Regions from separate parts of the Homo sapiens genome. Here regions 2, 3, 4 and 5 are each linked to region 1. Evidence: promoter capture Hi-C in 16 types of primary human blood cells and fetal thymus (Javierre and others, 2016). All regions are on one chromosome and are shown on one strand. The core of a region is centred on a gene start or on the middle of the fragment in contact, and the rest is flanking DNA. Distances in the headings are between cores, read along the strand shown. Region 1 holds the start of WBP1 (WW domain binding protein 1). Region 2 overlaps TPRKB (TP53RK binding protein). Region 3 has its middle 20 kb from the start of TPRKB. Region 4 overlaps DUSP11 (dual specificity phosphatase 11). Region 5 has its middle 3.6 kb from the start of DGUOK.

What was found. The method cuts DNA at HindIII sites, captures the fragments that hold promoters and counts their contacts. A CHiCAGO score of 5 or more calls a contact.
Region 2: a fragment that was not itself captured here is called in contact with the fragment with the promoter of WBP1 in region 1 in 12 of 17 cell types (naive CD8 T cells, non-activated CD4 T cells, total CD8 T cells and 9 more); the score reaches 21.9 in naive CD8 T cells.
Region 3: a contact is called between a fragment that was not itself captured here and the fragment with the promoter of WBP1 in region 1, in 2 of 17 cell types (naive CD8 T cells and non-activated CD4 T cells). The highest score is 5.3, in naive CD8 T cells.
Region 4: a fragment that was not itself captured here is called in contact with the fragment with the promoter of WBP1 in region 1 in 8 of 17 cell types (non-activated CD4 T cells, total CD8 T cells, activated CD4 T cells and 5 more); the score reaches 10.2 in non-activated CD4 T cells.
Region 5: a contact is called between a fragment that was not itself captured here and the fragment with the promoter of WBP1 in region 1, in 2 of 17 cell types (non-activated CD4 T cells and fetal thymus). The highest score is 5.5, in non-activated CD4 T cells.

The regions. Positions count from the first base shown.
Region 1 is chr2:74,457,061-74,459,771 of GRCh38, reverse strand. WBP1 (WW domain binding protein 1) reads right to left here and starts at 1,334. Exons shown (of 4, transcript NM_012477.4): 1 at 1,101-1,334; 2 at 27-129. The coding sequence starts at 1,169. It overlaps INO80B (INO80 complex subunit B), which reads right to left. Exons shown (of 5, transcript NM_031288.4): 5 at 1,828-2,438. The coding sequence ends at 1,908. It overlaps INO80B-WBP1 (INO80B-WBP1 readthrough (NMD candidate)), which reads right to left. Exons shown (of 8, transcript NR_037849.1): 5 at 1,912-2,438; 6 at 27-129. RefSeq lists enhancers at 902-1,011, 949-1,456, 1,682-1,831, 1,457-1,963, 2,462-2,531 and a silencer at 2,082-2,321. The HindIII fragment of the contact is 3,318 bases long and covers 887-2,711 here.
Region 2 is chr2:73,732,048-73,734,758 of GRCh38, reverse strand. TPRKB (TP53RK binding protein) reads left to right here. Exons shown (of 5, transcript NM_016058.5): 2 at 168-330; 3 at 2,474-2,596. The coding sequence starts at 190. Among named protein-coding and RNA genes, the nearest start is that of TPRKB, 3.9 kb to the left of the region's middle. The HindIII fragment of the contact is 4,504 bases long and covers 1-2,711 here.
Region 3 is chr2:73,756,412-73,759,122 of GRCh38, reverse strand. No RefSeq gene overlaps it. Among named protein-coding and RNA genes, the nearest start is that of TPRKB, 20 kb to the right of the region's middle. The HindIII fragment of the contact is 3,192 bases long and covers 1-2,711 here.
Region 4 is chr2:73,772,580-73,775,290 of GRCh38, reverse strand. It overlaps DUSP11 (dual specificity phosphatase 11), which reads left to right. Exons shown (of 9, transcript NM_003584.3): 3 at 247-378; 4 at 1,368-1,491. Among named protein-coding and RNA genes, the nearest start is that of DUSP11, 6.2 kb to the left of the region's middle. The HindIII fragment of the contact is 1,793 bases long and covers 473-2,265 here.
Region 5 is chr2:73,921,942-73,924,652 of GRCh38, reverse strand. No RefSeq gene overlaps it. Among named protein-coding and RNA genes, the nearest start is that of DGUOK, 3.6 kb to the left of the region's middle. The HindIII fragment of the contact is 4,500 bases long and covers 1-2,711 here.

The sequences.
Region 1 (2,711 bases), core at 85-2,584:
TGGAAATAGCCCTCTTGGAGACTTACACCAGAGCTCATAGTAGTAGGTGCAGCAGCCAGTCTCCCCGCAGCAGTGACCACTCTCACAGAGGTAGGGCTGGTTGTTCACTCCTGGGCACAGCTCTCGAAGCTGCGGGCAAGGAGGCACTTAGAACTAAGGGGGATTCCAGCCCAGGGCACTGTCCACCCCCACCTCCTGCATGCACATACACAATCCCACCCTGTGAACCAAGTTCAGCTTGGAGAGATGGGGGAAGTGGAGGATGCTGAGAGGAGTGTTGAAATATCTGAAGGGCTGTCAACGTGGAAGAGGATTTGGAATAGCAAGAATCAGTCTAGAGAACAAGACAAAAGTGTGGACATACAAAGAGGGAGATTTCAGCTCTGCATATATGAGACTTCCTTCACACTCAAGCCTCACTCTCCCCAACCCCCCTACCCCCATCCCCTCGGTGCTTTCTGTTAAGGGAGTGTTTTGGCAGAAGCCAGAAGACAGTCTGAGATAATCTCAGTCTCAGACAACGGGTAGCGGTAGGTCATTTCCAAAGCAAGTTGCTTTCATTATCCTGCGCGGTTCACTACCCCCCACCCGCAACTGGATCTTTCCACCCCTGGGCCTCAGGCTCCCTAGGATAGAGGAGGGGCAGTGTGAGACCCAGAGCAGTGCTCCCAACCAGATGGGATTGCTGTGGATGATAAAGGATGGCATCCAGGGCGCGAGTCTGGGTTCCAGCTCTTCTCCAAATTGCTCCCTCAAGAGAAGACGCTGCCGGACTCTGTTGTGACAATAGGCACATAGAAAAAGATCACAAATAACTGTTGCAAGACAGAGGGAGCCTCCCTGGGACCTCACTATGCCTCTGGTCACTGGAGAGCCACCGCAAGCTTCCACTGCAGCCATGGGATGGGTTCTATGAGGCTACAGGCAAAGTCAGCTGCATCTACGTTACAAAGTTTAGACAAAGAGTGGAAGAGACATGTTTAGGAACTTCACAGTACCTTTGGCTCCGTGAGTTCCTCCCCCACCCCCAAAAGGAAGGGACAAGGAAAGGGGAAAGAGACAAATGGCTGTCGTGATAGGTTTTGGAGCTATTGGGATACCTGCTGTTGCGGCGCCCGAAGTGCCCCCCAGGCCTCCTCGCTGCCGTTCCCGCTGCTGGCCCGAGCCATACCTCCACCTACAGCCCCCTGAGGACCACAGCCTCCTCTACCGCCAGCCGCCCCGCCCCTGCCACCTCTGCTGCCACCGCCATGGTCCCTGCCCGGCCCATCTTCGCTGAGGCCACCATCACTCCGCGGCCGGAGCTTCCATCCGGGCAGAACTCCACCAACTAGGACTCAGATTGCTCTGCCCTACCAATCATCATCGTCCCTTGACGGACGGGCCAATAGGAACAGATCAGAGGTTTCTCCCTGTGACCAATCCACAGCAGCGCCTCCGCCGCTCACCCAGACAACAAGAGCTTGTACAGACAAAGAGTAGGTGAAGGTTCGACCCACGGCCCTGACTGACAGCGGCAATAGCCAATACAGACAACAGAACAGGCTCTGGCATATCAACCAACGAACAGCCGCCCCGAAGAGCAAGGTTGCCGCTGATTGGCTTGCGGTATGTTTTCGGAATGACGCCAAAGGCCGAAGCACGCCAGGTAATCCCGGCTGGAAGAGGCGGAGTCCCAAAAGTCGGTCCGCTGGTTTGCAGCCTGGTTTTTTGCGGTGGTTTCCAAGCCCCAGGCATCGACGCAAGCTCCGACAGGGGCAAAATACGTGTATACCGGAGACTGGTCTGCCCACAACATCCCACTCCCCCAGTTCTGTACAAGCCGAAGCACCGGATGTAATTTAATAGGGTGGGGAAGATACTCAAGAGCGGGCATGGGACGGGGCGCAGAGTCCGGGTTAAGGGCCTTACGTAGCCAAAAGGGGGGATCCAGGACCCTCGGGCCCCCCCAGCCGCATCTGCAGGTTGATGCGGTAGCACTGAAGACTACAGAGTGCCTGGCCTGTGCGGGAGCAAGCGTAGCGGCGCGGATGGGGACAGCCGGGGACAGAGCAGCGCGGCGGCGGGCCTGAGGGGGATGGCCGCTGAGACACTGCCGTGGGGGCGGGGACGCCAGGTGGGAAGGAAAGGGTGGAACCCTGTGCTCCGCTGCAGTAGCGCACCATGGGGGCCGGAGCCGCAGCCCGCCCTCCCCGCCGCTCGCCCCGTGCGCCCCCCCGGCCTCCCCGCCCACTGGTCGCCGCAGTCTTGGTGAGGCGCTCGATAGTCTGGTTCTTGTGCTCTTCTGCCCGCCGCGCCGCCTGGAGCCGCCGCTTCCGCGCCCGCTCCTCGCGCTTCAGCAGCATCTCCTCTGTGAGGGCGGGAGGTGGGCAGCCCTCAGCTACAGGCAGCGGCAGCATAGGGGAAGGTTGACTCCGCGCCTTCTGGAGCAGAGCTCGCTAGGGAGAGACAGAGACGGGGTGCTGTCTGAAAATGGAGGAAGATGGAGAGGCGAGGTCGGCCAGATCGGGGGAGGGGAAAGAAGGGACATGGAAGGCAGGGTCTTGAGCAGTGCAGGCCTTCGGAGGCGGGATATTAATTAATGAGCACCCTCTCCAGGACACCTTCCATAGGTTCCTCTTCATAAATACTGCCTCCTCCCAGATCTCCTGACATTTAGCTTTAGGTCCTTATCTCTCAAGGGGAGAAGCATCAGTAATGTTACCTGCCTG
Region 2 (2,711 bases), core at 158-2,657, 730 kb after region 1:
TTAGGAAGACAACATCTCATGAGGATGCCAAATGGGCTTTGGCGATGGATTTTTCTAGTTTAACACTTTTATCAAGTTACTTTCAAAGTTTTTGAATATTTATTAAGAAATGAGTTCTGATGTTAACTTTTAAATGAAATCTTTTGGTCTTTTCATTTTGTGTGCAGTAGAATCCTGCTTATCTGTGAAATGCAGTTAACACATCAGCTGGACCTATTTCCCGAATGCAGGGTAACCCTTCTGTTATTTAAAGATGTAAAAAATGCGGGAGACTTGAGAAGAAAGGCCATGGAAGGCACCATCGATGGATCACTGATAAATCCTACAGTGGTAAATATAAATTTTAAGAATGAATGAGCCTGCTGGGTGCGGTGGCTCACGCCTGTAATGCCAGCACTTTAGGAGGCCGAGGCGGGTGGATCATCTGAGGTCAGGAGTTGAAGACCAGCCTGGCCAACATGGTGAAACCCTGTCTCAACTAAAAATACAAAAATTAGCTGGGCGTGGTGGCGGGCGCCTATAATCCCAGCTACTCGGGAGGCTGAGGCAGGAAAATCATTTGAACCCTGGAGGCAGAGGTTGCAGTGAGCCAAGATTGCGCCATTGCACTCCAGCCTGGGCGACGAGCAAAACTCTGTCTGGAAAAAAAAAATGGCCAGGCATGGTAGCTCACGCCTGTAATCCCAGCCCTTTGGGAGGCCGAGGCAGGCAGATCATGAGGTCAGGAGTTTGAGACCAGCCTGGCCAATATGGTGAAACCCTGTCTCTACTAAAAATACAAAAATTAGCTGAGCATGGTGGTGGGCACCTGTACTCAGGAGACTGAGGCAGGAGAATCGCTTGAGCCTGGGAGGCAGAGGTTGCAGTGAGCCGAGATTGTGCCACTGCACTCCAGCCTGGGCAACAGACCAAGAATCCGCCTCAAAAAAAAAAAAAAAAAAAAAGAATGAATGAGCCATACAGGGCATTTAAGTATACATTAATATTTGTGATGTTATAGGGTAGCCTAAAAATCTGTCACGGTTAGGGAAAAAATTCTTGTCCAAGTCAGATGCAGCCAACTTTGACTATAACAGTGAATAGAGGCAGAAGTGCCAGGTCCTGCCCTAGGAAATAGGAAAGGTTGTGGTCTGGGTCTAATATGGGAAATGCCTGGATCTCCAGCTTCTCATCTTTAAAATGGGGGTTCCTAACAAGACAGTCTGTAGAGGAGGAATAGTGTAGTGGTTAAGAGTACACACAGAGGCCAAGGTGGGTGGATTGCTTGAGGCCCGGAGTTTGAGACCAGCCTGGCCTACATAGTGAAACCGTGTCTCTACTAAAAATACAAAAAGTAGCTGGGTGTGGTGGTGTGTGCTGGTAGTCCCAGCTACTCGGGAGGCTGAGGCACAAGAATCATTTGAACCTGGGAGGCGGAGGTTACAGTGAATTGAGATTGAGCCACTGCATTCCAGCCTGGGCAATGGAGCGAGAGACTCTGTCTGTCTCCAAAAAAAAAAAAAAACAAAAAAACAGGGCACACGCAGTGCGATCATGTTACCGGGAATTAATCCCAGACCTACTACTTAGGCCTTTGAACAAGACATAACCAACCTTTATATAGTGCTTACTGCATTCCTAGCATTGTTCCAAGTGCTTTACGTATACTAACTTGCTTAATCTTCACAACAGCCTATGGAGTGAATACTGTTTCATCGGTCTCTAACAAATAAAATGCTAATGAACTTGCATAAGTTTCCTAGGTGATAGGTGACAGAGATGGGATTCAAACCCAGACATTCTTTGCCTCAATTTCCTCATCAATTACATACTACTACTACTGCTACTACTACTAATAATAGTGTCAATTTCATAGGGTAGTTTTGAGGATTAAAGAAAATATTACAAGTAAAATGTTTGCAATATGATCATGCCCATAATATTAGCCCTCAATTAATGTTATTTAAAAAAATTTTACTATTTGCATAAGTTCCTTGCAGCTTTAAAATTCTGTGATTTCCTGACTACCCAGGCCCTTGGGATAATAGTTGTTTTTTGTTTTTTTTTTTTTTGAGACAGTTTCACTCTTGTTGCCCAGGCTGGAGTGCAATGGCGCGATCTTGGCTCACGGCAACCTCTGCCTCCCGGGTTCAAGCAATTGTCCTGCCTCAGCCTCCTGAGTTGCTGGGATTACAGGTGCGTGCCACCACGCCTGACTAATTTTTGTATTTTTAGTAGAGAGGGTTTCGCCGTGTTGGCCAGGCTGGTCTTGAACCCTGACGTCAGGTGATCTACCCACCTTGGCCTCCCAAAGTGCTAGGATTACAGGTGTGAGCCACCGTGCCCAGCCGGGATAATAGTTTTGAAAATACAGACCGTAAGAATTGTGATGAAGTAAAACAGCTTGACACTGGAGTTAACCATGAGTTACCATGTGTTTTCAGGCACTGCAGATTCTCCATGTGTAATTAATTCTTTTTCCTTGCTTTGGTAGATTGTTGATCCATTTCAGATACTTGTGGCAGCAAACAAAGCAGTTCACCTCTACAAACTGGGAAAAATGAAGACAAGAACTCTATCTACTGAAATTATTTTCAACCTTTCCCCAAATAACAATGTAATGTGCACTTTCCTATTTCTGTTGACCGTGTCATAATAACATATGTGTTCCTCAGTGTTGGGTTGGAGGCTAAATTCCTGCAAGCCAGTGGTTAGTAATAAACCCAAATAAT
Region 3 (2,711 bases), core at 72-2,571, 700 kb after region 1:
GAGCAAGACCGACCAAGGTAATACCAACATGCTAGAGATAGGTAACAGCCCTCAAACCCTACGAGCTTCTGTAGGCTATCTGCATAATGTGCCCATTGTAGGAAAAGATTGGTTTCAGCAGACACCGTAAGCCATATAGTACTGTGGTGCTTAGCAAGAAGGCTTTACTTATCTGTGGATGTTTTCTTCAAAAGCAGCTTCAGGTTTTTAGTTGGTTCACATGTCCTTTCAGGTCTATTAACCTGATAGGTCGGGCTGAGGCGGGGGCAATTTTTATCCAGGTATAATGTACCCACGGTTTAACTCCTGCCCAATTGATGAATGCGTGGTCAGAAGGACCTCATAGGGTCTTACCCTTTGAGGGGCTAGTTGGTGATTCAGTCCAGTCTCCCTCCAGGTTTTAAGTAGAACTTGGTCTCTAGCCTAGAAAGGGTGAGGTGGCCTGTCCATGGGGAAGAAGCAAACTCATGAACAGAAGTCGGTATTTCATTTAGCAATTTTAAATAATGTCTAATAGCTCCTTCCCTTTCTAAGATTTTATAGCCTGATCTAGCCCCAATGTGGCTAGGAAGGGTCTCTCATACATAATTTCTAAAGGGCTCAACTAGAGCCTGTTTCAGGGAATGACCCAAATCCTCAGCAGGAGAGAAGGTAGTACTTTGTCCCAAGTTAGATTAGTTTCCTGGCACACTTTAGCAGCAGTTTTTTTTTTTTGTTTTTTTGTTTTTTTTGTTTTTGAGACAGTCTCACTCTGTCGCCCAGGCTGGAGTGGAGTGGCATGATCACGGCTCACTGCAATCTCTACCTCCCGGCTTCAAGCAATTCGTGTGCCTCAGCCTCCCAAGCAGCTGGGACTAAGGGCATGCGCCTCCACGTCCAGCTAATTTTTTTGTATTTTTAGTAGAGATGGGGTTTGCCATGTTGGCCAGGCTGGTCTCAAACTCCTGGGCTCAAATAATCCACCTGCCTTGGCCTCCCAAAGTGCTGGGATTACAGGTATAAGCCACCACACCTGGCCTAATTGTTCTTTAAATAGTTTGATTCAGTTTTTTAGTCTTTCCGGTGGGCTGTGGCTGTGCTGCATGAAGTTTCCATTCAATGTCTAGGACTTGAGACACTTCCTGTACTACCTGAGAGATGAACACCGCACCATGGTCACTCTGAATCGTCAAAGGGAGTTCATACTGGGGAATTATCTCTTTAGTATAGTGTGGGCCACTTCAGCTCCCTTTCTGTTCGGATAGGGTATGCCTCTACCCATCCTGTAAATGTGTCTACAAAAAACAAAAAGATGTTTTTTGTACAAAAAGATGCCCTGTAGCCTCCAGGCACCCGTGGCATTGTGGTGAAATTAACTTGCCAGTCCTTGCATGGAGAGTCTCCTCAATGTTGTACCCTTGAACAGGGGTGGGGTCAGTTTTAGGGCAGTTTGGGCACAAAGCATGCATTGATAGATCACATTTTGAATGACCCCATTGCATGTCGGGGTCAATCAAGAACTCACATGCCATTGAAGGGTTGCATCTTTTCTGTAATGGATGCTTTGATGAAACTAGCTCACTATATCTTTAAGGAGGGCACTGGGAACCAATACGATACCTTCCAGATTACATTTCCAGCCTGGATGGGCCAGGGCTGGGATGTGAATCCCCATTCCTTGGCTCACTTTAAATCTCCTTTGGTATAGCAAGGTTGGAACTTGGTCAGATCATTGTGAGGTATTAGTGGGGCTAAGAAAGCCTCAGAGTCCAATGTTTTTGTGGCTTGCTTGGCTGCCAGGTCGGCAAGCTAATTTCCTTTGACTATTCGGGAGTCTCCTTTTTGATGGCTGGGACAGTGGATGATAGCCACTATTAGAGGGGGCATTTACTGATTTTTTTTTTTTTTTTTTTTTTTTTTTTTTTTTTTTTAGATAGAGTCTCACTCTGTTGCTCAGGCTAGGGTGCAGTGGCACAATCTCGGCTCACTGCAACTTCTGCCTCCCGGGTTCAAGTGATTCTCCTGCCTCAGCCTCCCAAGTAGCTGGGACTACAGGCATGTGTCACCGTGCCTGGCTAATTTTTATATTTTTTAGTAGAGACGAGGTTTCACCATGTTGGCCAGGCTGGTCTTGAACTCCTGACCTTAGGTGATTCACCCGCCTCAGCCTCCCAAAGTGCTGGGATTATAGGCATGAGCCACCATGCCTGGCCTTTTACAGATTCTAATAAGGCCAAAATATCAGAAGTATATTTGATTTCTTTATTTTTGCTAGTCAAAAGACCTCTCTCTACATAGCTCTGTGGGCATGTGCCACCAAGAAATCATATTGGGAGTCTATGTAAATATTCATAATTTTTTTTCTTACCCAATTGGAGGGCATGCATAAGGGCACCTTGGCCCACTGAGCTGAGGTGCCTAGCAATAAGGCTTTGGCTTCCTTAATTCCTTGTAAGGTAATGACCTCAAATTCAGCATGATGATGTCCATGGTCCATGAAGCTGCTTGCATCTGTGAACAGTCCTAGTTTGGAGCACAGCAGGGGCTGATCTGCCAGGTCTGGTTGCCTTGGAAAGACCTGCTCATTAATTGGAAGGCAATTTTGTATGGGCCCTGGCTCCTTCTCTGGAGGTATTAAGGTAGCAGAGTTAAGAACCGAGAACACCTTTAACTTCACCTCTGGATTGTCAAGGAGGGTGGATGGCTTGGTATTTTCCCAACCTCTCAGAGGT
Region 4 (2,711 bases), core at 120-2,619, 680 kb after region 1:
GATTACAGTCTGATTAGGAGACCAACATGAAACAAATACAGAAATACATATATAGAAGTGGGCTTATTTTTTTCTTTCTGACCACTCTGGAAGAAAGGATTGTTGTAATATACCTTCTATGTTCCAGGAGAATGGAAACTTTCCTTTGAATCTCGTTGTATGTTAGCATCACAGGACTTGAATAAATGCCTAATGTAGTACAGGATTTTAAGCACATATTTGCTCTTATTTCATTCTCTGTGACAGAGTTTTGAAAAGAAACTTGCTCCAGAAGAATGCTTTTCCCCTTTGGATCTTTTTAACAAAATCCGAGAACAAAATGAAGAACTTGGACTGATTATTGATTTAACATATACTCAACGCTATTATAAACCAGAGGTAAGTGGAACCCTTCAATGAAAAGAACTTTCTTCCTTCTGATCCTAAAATAATTTATAGTAATTCAGTAATCATCTTGTGCTAATGTGAAGCTTGGCCTTCTTTGATGGGTAGTAAGTTTAAAAGAGAACCAAGTGATTTCTCTAATTACATGTTTTTAATTGCTGTCTTAAATGGAATATTATTCAGCCATAAAAAAGAATAGATTTAATACGTGCTACAATATGGATGAACCTTAAAAACATGCTTAGTGAAATAAACCAGACACAGAAGGACAAATATATGATTCCACTTGTATGAAGTACCTAGAATAGACAAATTCACAGAGACAGAAAGCAGACTAAAGGATCTATGAGGTGGGGAGAAAAGGGAATTATGGTTTAGTGGTCAGAGTCTTTTTGTCGGGGATGATGAAAAAGTTTTGGGTATAGACAGTGGTGATGGTTACACAATACTGTGAATGTAATGCCACTGAACTATACACTTGTGGATGGTTAAAATGATTTTGACTTAGCCTCTTCTGTCTTTTATCTGTATCTACTTTTCTCCCACCCCAAGAATATCGGTTCTCAATAGTGCCTGGAATTCCCTCTATCTCACAATTCAAATCCAAGTTCTTCTGACTCTATTCTCTACTCTTCTACTTAAATCATAGCTGCTTTATGAAGGCACTGGCCCTTGAATTATAAAATATTAAATGGAACTGTTTATATAATTTATAGTTAAATATGCATTCATTCACATGGAATTTGCTTTCAGTTTTGTATACCTAGTGACTATCTATTATGTAGTTTTATTGAAAATCAAGTGATACTTCCTGGTTGAAGCAGTGTTGGAAAAAATGGCTCTTTTATCAGAATTGTGTATACTGATATTGGCATATTAAGTTTGTTATAATCTCTTGGCTTATATTCTGGGTCCCCTAATTACTCTTTAATTATTTCTCTACAAGTGAAATAATACACATCTTTTATGGTTTTGCTTTATAGGATTTGCCAGAAACTGTTCCTTACTTAAAAATTTTTACAGTTGGACATCAAGTGCCTGATGATGAGACTATTTTTAAATTCAAACACGCTGTTAATGGGTTTTTGAAAGAAAATAAAGATAATGGTGAGTTTTTGTTCTTACCTGAACTGTGGTGTGCATTATGAATGGGGTTGGGGATTTTTGGTATTTTTTTATAGTTCCAACCTCAGACCTGTTGTATTTAATGATGCTAAGGTGATGAAAATGTCAGATGGTGCTAATAGGGTAAGATGTTTTTCCTTTTGTTGATCACAAATAATTTAACTTTGGAATGTTAAATTAGTTTTAGTGCAAAATATGAACTGAACTGGCTCATCTTTCTTTTTTAATTTGAATGAGAAATATATAAAATTAAAATGTTATTTTTGTCTTCTATATTGGTTAAGAAGTGAGAAGTAGAAGAAAAGATTAAAAAACTCTGAGTCTTAGAGTTATGTGAAAGAGACAAGAAAGGGCAAAGATTAAGAATGGGACGGACCCCTAGAAGCAAAACAAGAAAGAGTGCACCAGTGGAATTGCCCCTTTGTCATATGTATTTAAGACACATGTATACATATGTAACAAACCTGCACGTTGTGCACATGTACCCTAAAACTTAAAGTATAATTAAAAAAAAGATATTTCTGCTGTTTTTCCGCTTTGAGTACAGATGGGGAAGGATACCACCACCTCTTATTCTTCACATGGGAGAACTTAAGCCAAAGGCTGGTGCTTTCTTGTTCCTGCTTTAAGATTTACCTTACTCTTTTGAAAATAGAACTTAACAGCTTCTTTATCTTAAGGATCCAGTTGCCTTTTTCTGGCATCTCTCTGCCAGAAAGAACATGATATTTGTCATATTTTAAGACTGAAGAAGCTTTTATCTTTGGAAAGCCACTGACACCCACAGGACAGAGGCTTCATTTGCCTTCTTTCCAAATTTAGCTTGAGGAGTGTACACTTTGTTACATAAATCTGACAGTAAATACTCCTTTTTAAAAAATGTGATGGAGTAGTGGAGAAAGAATAGAGACAGAGGTGGGAAGATAGGGAATGGAAGGTGAGAGATAGAGACTGGATCAGTGGGTTTGAAGATAAAATTTCAAATTGTAACCTAGTCGCTCACTTAATGTGGACACTAGCTTTTAATTATGTTAAACCTTGTTCACAGATCTTCCCCTGTACTTTAACTTTAAAACTTGAGAGGTTTGGCTTTCCCATTTGTATAAGCTGTTGTCACAGAAATACTACCTTTTAAGATATGAGGGTACAGCTGATGGCCTATTCACTGCTTCCAGGCTCTTTTCTGTGAAATTTTTATATAG
Region 5 (2,711 bases), core at 95-2,594, 540 kb after region 1:
GAGATCGCGCCACTGTGCTCCAGCCTGGGCGACAGAGCGAGACTCCGTCTCAAAAAAAAAAAAAAAAAAAAATTATGGTAAAGCATAGTATGTAGTGAGGAAAAGAGGATGTGTTGTGCAGTGAGGAAAAGAGGATGTGTTGTAAGTGTACAGTTCAATGAAGTTTTCACAAATGGAATGACTGTTACCTGGATTCAGATCAAGAAACAGCATTATCCGCATCTCCAGAATCCCCCATATTCGTTGCCAGTTACTATCCCTCAAAGATAACCATTAGCCTGACTTCAACAGTAGAGATTAGTTTTGCGTTTTCTTTATATAAATGGAATTATATAGTAAATACTTCTTTTATTTAACATATCTGTGAGATTCATCCAGGTTGAATGTATTAGTTGTAGTTCACTCATTCTCATTGCTGTATAGTATTCCACAATGTCACTATACCACAATGTACTCGGAAGTTTCTAGATTTGAGCCATAATGAATAGTGTTGCGGTAAATATTCTTGTACATGTCTTTTGGTAAAAAGAAGTATGCATTTCTCTTGGGTGTATAAGTAAGACTGGAACTGCTGTGTAATAAGTTACATATATATGCTCAGCTTTGATAGATATTCCCAAATAGTAGATAGTTCCACAGTGTTTGTTCTAGTTGACATTGCCATCATCAGTGAGAGAGAGTTCTGGTTTTCCCACATTCTTACCAACAGTTGATATTGTCAGCTTTTTAAATTTTATCCATTTTGCTGTGTGTAATTATAACTTATTGTGGTTTTAATTTGCATTTTCCTGCTGATTAATGAAGTCAAACATCTTTTTGTATGTTTATTGGTCATTTCAGTATCCTCTGTTGAAGTCTTATGTCCATTTTTCTATTGGTTGTCTTTTGCTTGTCTTATTCTTCAAATATTCTGGATGAGTCCTTTGTGAATATTTTATCTCTGTGGTTTGCTTCTTTTCTTTTCTTTTCTTTTCTTTTCTTTTCTTTTCTTTTCTTTTCTTTTCTTTTCTTGTGTTGAGACAGAGTCTCTTGCCCAGGCTGGAGTGCAGTGGGGCAATCTTGGCTCACTGCAACCTCCATCTCCTAGATTCAAGCGATTCTCATGCTTCAGCCTCCCAAGTAGCTGGGATTACAGGCATGTGCCATGCCCGACTAATTTTTTGTATTTTTAGTAGAGACGGGGTTTTGCTATGTTGGCCTGGCTGCTCTTGAGCTCCTGGCCTCAAGTTATCCACCCACCTCTGCCTCCCAAAGTGCTGGGATTACAGGTATGAGCCACAGCACCCAGCCTCTAAAAACATTCAAAATTTTTTTGATGTAGAGTGTAATGTAAGAAACTAAAATATCTTTTGCCTAAGTTGCCTGTCAGTTATCTTAATTCATTAGTAATAATCTTTCTACCCCCCTTTAGTTATCTATGCTTGTTTTGTTAAATGTTTTTTATTTATTTAGGTCCCAATTCCAAATTCCCAGAAGGGAGAATCTGATTGGCCCAGCTGTGTTCAGGTATCTAATCATGGTTCAATCAGCTGTGGCCAAGGAAGAGGGTTGGGGCCCCACTTTTGCACATGAGGAAGTACAATTAAGGGGATCTTCATGAGGAAAGAAGACACCCCAAAGAGGTGGTGATCATTTCCTCTTCGAAGCAGTAAACACGGAGTTTTCATCCCATTTGGGTGCTAGCCAGAAGACTGAAAGTAGTGGCATATTGGTGAGTAGAATTACCTCCCCCTTACCTGGGAGAACGAGGCCACTTCCTGCCCCTGGGCGATTTTGTCCTGGGCAAAATGTTGTCCTGCAAGAACTCTAGTCATTCAGCATCCATTCATTCATCCAATATTTGCTGAGCATCTACTGCATGCCAGACACTCTGCTTAGTCCTTGAAGTGCAGCTCTGAAGGATTTACTATTTTTCCAGTGTTTCTAAATGCTACCGTATACATAAAATACTGACCAATATTATTTAAAATGTCATGCAGCCATTAAAAAAGGGAGATAAACATACAAAAATGTGGCCCAAACTTTATTCTGCAGCCTGGACTTTTAGCCAGCTATATCTCACCTACTTTGAAGATTTTATAATGTGCTGGATTGTGCTAAATCGATTTGGTTAAATTGGAAAGTACACTTCCAGAACGCCCTACCAACAAGGCTCTGAGTTAGAGTTGGCCAAAAGAGGACCTGGGGTGAGATTTGGAAGGCAGAGTGGGAGTGTCAGCCATTCCTCTGTGGAAATCTTCTAGTCAGATGCTATGACAGACAGAGGTGCCCAGCAGATAGGTTTCACCTAGTCCTCCACCCATTTGTGACTCCTCTTGGAGTATCCCACAGTTCCTTGCAGACTTTCACTTTTCCAGCTCCTTCAGTCTTTGGGGAAAGTGTCATTCCTGTAATAAAGCCCTTATTCCCATAATACCCATAATGGCTCTGCTCCCCTGAATGAACTGTATTGATACACCTAATCATAAAGGGAGACGTATCAAAAGGTGGTTAACAGTGTGGGCTCTGGATTCCAGTGACCTGGGGGTGAGGATTAAGAGAGAGAATCCACCTGCCACACCTGCCACACAGTTACCACCCAATAGACATTATATAACACATAATAAGTAATGGCTGCCTTCTTAGGCCCTCAGTGCCTGGGACATTGTTTCTCTCTCTCTCTCTCTGATAGGGTCTCGCTTGTCAGAGGCTGGTTTGAATTAGGCTCAAAG